Linked DNA regions of Homo sapiens: region 1 is linked to region 2. The links are contacts of gene promoters, found by promoter capture Hi-C in human tissues and cell types (Jung and others, 2019). All regions are on one chromosome and are shown on one strand. Each heading gives the region's core, a stretch centred on a gene start or on the middle of the fragment in contact. The rest is flanking DNA. Distances are from core to core; before and after follow the strand shown. Region 1 overlaps UBE2F (ubiquitin conjugating enzyme E2 F (putative)). Region 2 holds the start of PER2 (period circadian regulator 2).

Region 1 (2,997 bases), core at 193-2,692, 300 kb after region 2:
GGTGAAAGAACGTGACTCTGTCTCAAAAAAAAAAAAAGAAATTATCAAAGTGGATTACAAAGCAATAAAACTATGCCAGGCGCAGCGGCTCACGCCTGTAATCCTGGCAAAACCCCATCTCCACTAAAAATACAAAAATTGGCTAGGCGTGGTGGCGGGCACCTGTAATCCCAGCTACTCAGGAGGCTGAGGCAGGAAAGTCACTTGAATCCAGGAAGTGGAGGTCGCAGTGAGCCGAGATCGCGCCACTGCATTCCAGCCTGGGTGACAGAGCAAGACTGTCTCAAAAAAAAAAAAAGAAAGAAAGAAAAGAAAAGAAAGGTTAAGTTCTAAAAAAAAAAAAAAATTTAACAGGTTTTTGTTCCAGTTCAATGCACCAGAATTAAGCTTTTTATCTACATGTAGGCATGCACTATCTGAGCCTCTAATATTTCAGTCTATCTGAAAGAAACATTTTAAATTTTTTTGCAGAGAAACCGCTAAAAACTTGCATGTGCAGAGCTCCAAACTAGTTCCGAATAGTTACTAAGTGGTACTGATACAAGGCAAGTTATTTTGTTTGCCTTTGTAAATATTTTAGAAAGATAATTAAATAGATAGTAAAGGGTTATTCATTGGTGGTTTCTTGTTTTCTCTTTAGCATAATGAGACATACTTTTGGAAAGCATGGCTTACTTGAATAAAATGATATAATTTCCCCCTCTTCGATTAGGAGAGAAGGTAGGGAGAAAGAATGAAAGAAGGGGCAGGGAGCATGCTGTCTTTTTATCTGACACCATAGCTATAGGGCTAGGAGATGTGCCATACTTCTTTCAAACCTAAGGTATGCAGTTACAATCCTGATTTGAAAGCCAGTCATAAAATTTTCTTGTTTTTAAAGTACACTCTATGGGTTAAAAACCAACAATCTCTGTAAGATATGTATCAAGGATGAATGAACCATTTATAAGTGGGACCTTTTCTGTGGTTTTGATTAAATGTCTACATGTGTTGGCCATGCACAGTGGCTCGTGCCTGTCATCTCAGCTCTTTAGGAGGCCAAGGTGGGAGGATCACTTGAGCCCAGGAGTTTGAGATCAGCCTGGGCAACACAGGAGACTCCATCTCTACAAAAAAATAATAATAATTTTATTATTATTTTTTTTTTGAGACAGAGTCTCACTCTGTCGCCCAGGTTGGAGTGCACTGGTGCTATCTCGGCTCACTGCAAGCTCCGCCTCCTGGGTTCATGCCATTCTCCTGCCTCAGCCTCCCGAGTAGCTGGGACTACAGGCGCCCACCATGATGCCTGGCTGATTTTTTGTATAAAAAATAATAATAATTTTTAAAAATTAGCTAGGCGTGGTAGCATGCACCTGAGGTCTGAGGTCTCAGCTGCTCAGGAGACTGAGGTGGGAAGATCACTTGAGCCCAGGAGGTTGAGACTGCAGTGAGCCACACTCATGCCACTGTACTCCAACTTGGGCAACAAAGAGAGACCCTGTCTATTAAAAAAAAAAAAAAAGGTTTACATGTATATACAGGCTCAAGTTGGGGGCCTGTGGGAAGATAAGATGGGACTGGAAAGCAGAGGGATTATTTTATTTTATTTTTATTAGGAAAATGTCCTAATAAAAGAGAAGAGTATAATGAACCCATCCCCCAGCTTCAACATTTTGCCAATTTTGCTTGTCTATCCTGCCCCCCCACAGTTATTTGTTTATTGTTTGTCTTCCTGTAGCATTTTAAAGCAAACTACTTCATCTGTAAATACTTCAGTGGGTAGAAAGATAACTTTTTTTTTTTTTTTTTTTTTTGAGACAGTCTCACTCCATCGCCCAGGAGTGCAGTGGCACAATCTCAGCTCACCGCAACCTCCGCCTCCTGGGTTCAAGCAATTCTCTTGCCCCAGCCTCCCGAGCAGCTGGGATTACAGGTGCATACCACTACAACTGGCTAAATTTGCACTTTTAGTAGAGACAGGGTTTCATCATGTTGACCAAGCTGGTCTCGAACTCCTGAGCTCAAATGATCCACTCGCTTCAGCCTCCCAAAGTGTTGGGAATATAGGCGTGAGCCACTGCACCCAGCCAGAAAGATAACCTTTTAACAGAATCTCAAGATATTGCCTCATTTCCGAGTTGAAGAAAACTTTGAGGTCAAGCAATCCAGTGTCTTTCAAAACACTTTCAACTGAGATCCACAGTAAGAAACATATTTTATATCACAACTCACGATACCTACCCATAAATTCTATATGCTGAAAATAATCTTTTGGCTGGGCGCAGTGGCTCACGCCTGTAATCCCAGCACTTTGGGAGGCTGAGGCAGAAGGATCACTTGAGCCCAAGAGTTTGAGACCAGCCTGCCCAACAAGGCAAAAACCCATCTCTGCTAAAAATACAAAAATTAGCCTGGCGTGGTGGTGCATGCCTGTGGTCCCAGCTACTCGGGAGGCTGAGGCGCAAGAATCACTTGAACCTAGGAGGCAGAGGTTGCAGTGAACCGAGATCTCACCACTGCACTCCAGCCTGGGCGACAGAGTGAGCCTCTGTCTTGAAAATAATAATAATTTTTTAAGAAACATTACATACTTACCCTCTCAAACTGATTTCACAACCATGGAGAGGTTGCAATCCACCATTATCTTTCCTACTTCAGATGGAGGCTGGAATGGGCCCTGTCCTGCCCCATGTCAGAGATATCTCCACATCCAATCCTAAGTTCTCTCTAGCACTCACCCAAACCAGCAGACCCACTTATAAAATATTTCACCATTACCCACAGACATCCTCAGCCCCAGAACTAATTTTAAGGGAAGTACAATGATAAAAAGTTGTAATTCAAAAAATACTAAAATGATCAAAGCTTTCAGGCTTTAATGATCTTTTGAAATAATCAAGGGTTTGGAAGATTAATGATAGAGAGAATACGACATGTATTACAAAAGTGAACTGCCTGATAGATAGCTTTCCGAATGTACGGTGCTCATGAGTGAAGACTGCATGCTGACCCTGT
Region 2 (2,885 bases), core at 120-2,619:
TTGGACAGTCTCGCCTTCCCCATGAGAGCCTACACATTCAGAGCCTGCTGCGTGGGAGCCTGAAAGCTCCTTCCTGTCCTGTAAGTCTCAGGCTTCTACCCAGACCCGGGGAAATTGTACTCTTTCTCCTGACACTTTAAATGGAAGTTTAGAGGCTCCACATGCCCCACACAATGCTTACCGAAACAAGGTGATGCAGGGTCCCGCGCTGTCTCCCAGGACAACCTCCTACCCCTGGCTCCTGCGTCTCTACGGCTTGCACCGTTGTAAGGCGTCCCTTTCTCAGGGCCCATCTTACCCGCCTTGGAAGTGCTGCCTTTCTCACGGAGCCTGTGGGGATAGCTCTGGTTAATTTATAGCCCACATCGCCCAATTTAGCATTTGATTAAGTTTCCTTTTTATGAGATAGTCCTTTCTCCCTAGTGATGCGCTTGGGGGCAGGGACAACATCATTTCTTTCTTTTGTACCTCCCCAGAGTAACAATGACTCTATTTCCTGAACCAAAAATTGCAACACGTGGTCTCAAAAATAAGAAAGGTCACTTGGTAGCTGCCGGGACAAGTGTCGACCACAGGCACCTCAGAGGCCCGGGTGGGCGTGCCCCCGGAGCTGCTGCAGGGCGGTGCTGCCACCTTCTCCTGGGCTGCTCCGGGGCCCCGCGATGAATGAGTGAGTGAATGAGTAAATGAATGAATGTGAATGCGTGAATGAAGCATGCCGCGCGGACTTTCCCGCGGCCCTGGCCGCTGGGGGCGCGCCTCTGGCCGGTGGCCGGAGGTGGAGGTCTCCCTCGTCCGGCTTCGGCGCGCCGGGTCTGCCAGGCCGGCCGGAGGTGCGCAGGAGCCCCGCGCCCAGCTCCCCCGCCCGCAATGGTACGCGCCACTCCGCGCTCCCCGAGCTGGCGGGCTTGAGGGCGTAGTGAATGGAAGGCGCCGACGCCGGAAGTGGATGAGACCACTAGGGAGGACGACGGGTAGCACGAACGCGCCGCGTCTCCATTGAGGAACCGACGAGGTGAACATGGAGTTCCATGTGCGTCTTATGTAAAAAGAGCGACGGGCGCGGCCACCAATGGGCGCGCGGCGTTCGTAGGCCCCGCCCCTCATGTATGCAGATGAGACGGAGTCGCGGCCAATGGCGGAGGCCGGGGGCGGGCGCGGCGCGCGCGGTCACGTTTTCCACTATGTGACAGCGGCGACTCGGCCGCGGCGGAGGCGGCGGCGCTGAGGGGATACGTGCAGCTGTGGGCGGCGGCGGCGGGCGCGGGGCCGGGCGGACAGAGCCGCGAGTCGGCGGAGGGACCGGCGGACGGGCTGACGCGGGCGCGGCCGGCGGTAAGTGGCGCGGCGCGGCCCCGCTGCGGCTTACGTAACCGCCGCCGGCGCGCGGGCCTCGGGCAGGTCGGGGTCCCAGCGCCGGCTCGGGCAGCGGAGGCGCCGCCGGAAGTTCCTTGGGCTGCTGGACTCCTCGGCTTGAAACGGCGCCGGCGTGGGGGCGTGTGCCCTTGGCCCTGTCCCAGGTGGAGAGTGGTCGAGCCGCGCGCAGGGTGCGCTCGTTTGAACTGCGGTGACACCGAGGGTTGGGGACTCGAACCCCCGCTTCGCAGCTCAGGAGCCTGAGGTCCGAAAGGTGAGGCAGCGTGTGTAGGGCACCGAGCTACCGAGTGACTGCGCGCGGGCTGCGGTTCCGTGGGCGATTCTCTTTTGGGAACCCTCCCTCCCCTCGCATGGGGAAGGCCAAGGAAACCAAGGGTCAGCGCAGCCGGCCCTGGGATCTGGAGGACCCTCGGGGAGCTGACTGCCTCTTCTGAGGCCACAGGGCTAAGTCCTGGGCTGGGGAAGGGCCATGGAGGGGCGCTGATCTAGGAGCTTTTCCTGGACACCCACGGGTCTCCTGGAATGGGTGATCAGAGGGACAAGGAAGTCCCGGTGCCAAGCCAGGCCTGGGAACCTGAGGGCGGGGAGACCCTCTAATGTTCGCCCCTTTGCCTCCCCTGGACCACCCTGTATTAATTCCCTTTCCCCGGACTGGATAGAAGGGAATGGGGGTGTCCACTCTTTGGTGCAGCAGTCGCGCCTACCTTCTGGGATGTACTTTGGCTGCCAAGTCCCAGACATAGACCAGGGGGTGGGAGGTGGCCTGCTTCCCCCTTCAGGAAGGCCAGGGTAAGGGATGACGAGTTGGTTGCCAGGGTTTCTGTAACCTACACAGAAGGAACCCGTTTGGAAAGCTGATTCATACAGAACAACAGAGCCAGAAGGCACCCTGAAAATCACCCAGAGTAACCCCTCAGCCTGACAGATGAGCAAACTGAGGCCCAGGCCCAGGCTGTCTGCAGGATCTTCCCATCGTCCTGGGGCAGGATGAGCTTCAGAGGTTCAGTGATGGCCTCCACTTGCGTGCTGAATCCTGGGTGGGCTGGAATTTGGGAGGAAGGGCCTTAAGTCCGGGAAATGTGTTAAGAACCCCACACGGTGGCTAAAGCCCCACATGGACGCCTCTCACCTGTATATGGCACAGCAGGACTGCTAGACTTCTTGGCCCACCCTCTACCCCCACCTGGGGCTTCTGGTCCCAGGCTGGGTGTGCCTGAGAAGAAAACAGGACTCTACCTGAAGGCTTTATTTGGAAATTGAGTTTTAAAATACAAGGTGAATTGATTTTTGTGTGCTATATGACTATAATGAAGAAAGGGACTCCGTTTTTTTTGAGTGGAAGCTGTGTGGTGTGCCAGCGCGGGGATGGCACCGTGGGTGTTTGCAGTTATCTGTCACTGTCGCCTTGGTATGATTCATTGGTACAGAACTAACGCAGCCCTGGCTTTCTGTGGAGACTGGAGTGCCAGGTGGGAAGGGGGAGCCCTGTGTCAGCCAGCTGGCTGCTG

Evidence for each region. Contacts are between HindIII fragments. The study calls those that stand out against the background at their distance.
Region 1: a fragment that was not itself captured here is called in contact with the fragment with the promoter of PER2 in region 2 in 2 of the 25 tissues and cell types used here (hippocampus and pancreas).

The regions. Positions count from the first base shown.
Region 1 is chr2:237,988,911-237,991,907 of GRCh38, reverse strand. All of the region lies in intron 3 of UBE2F (ubiquitin conjugating enzyme E2 F (putative)), which reads right to left. The region is part of intron 3 of UBE2F-SCLY (UBE2F-SCLY readthrough (NMD candidate)); the gene reads right to left. Among named protein-coding and RNA genes, the nearest start is that of UBE2F, 23 kb to the right of the region's middle. The HindIII fragment of the contact is 5,368 bases long and covers 1-2,997 here.
Region 2 is chr2:238,287,094-238,289,978 of GRCh38, reverse strand. It overlaps PER2 (period circadian regulator 2), which reads left to right and starts at 1,369. Exons shown (of 23, transcript NM_022817.3): 1 at 1,369-1,630. LOC112268433 (a long non-coding RNA gene) reads right to left here and starts at 2,110. Exons shown (of 3, transcript XR_002959458.2): 1 at 2,082-2,110. RefSeq lists silencers at 622-891, 1,232-1,381 and enhancers at 930-1,824, 1,909-2,431. The HindIII fragment of the contact is 9,111 bases long and covers 1-2,885 here.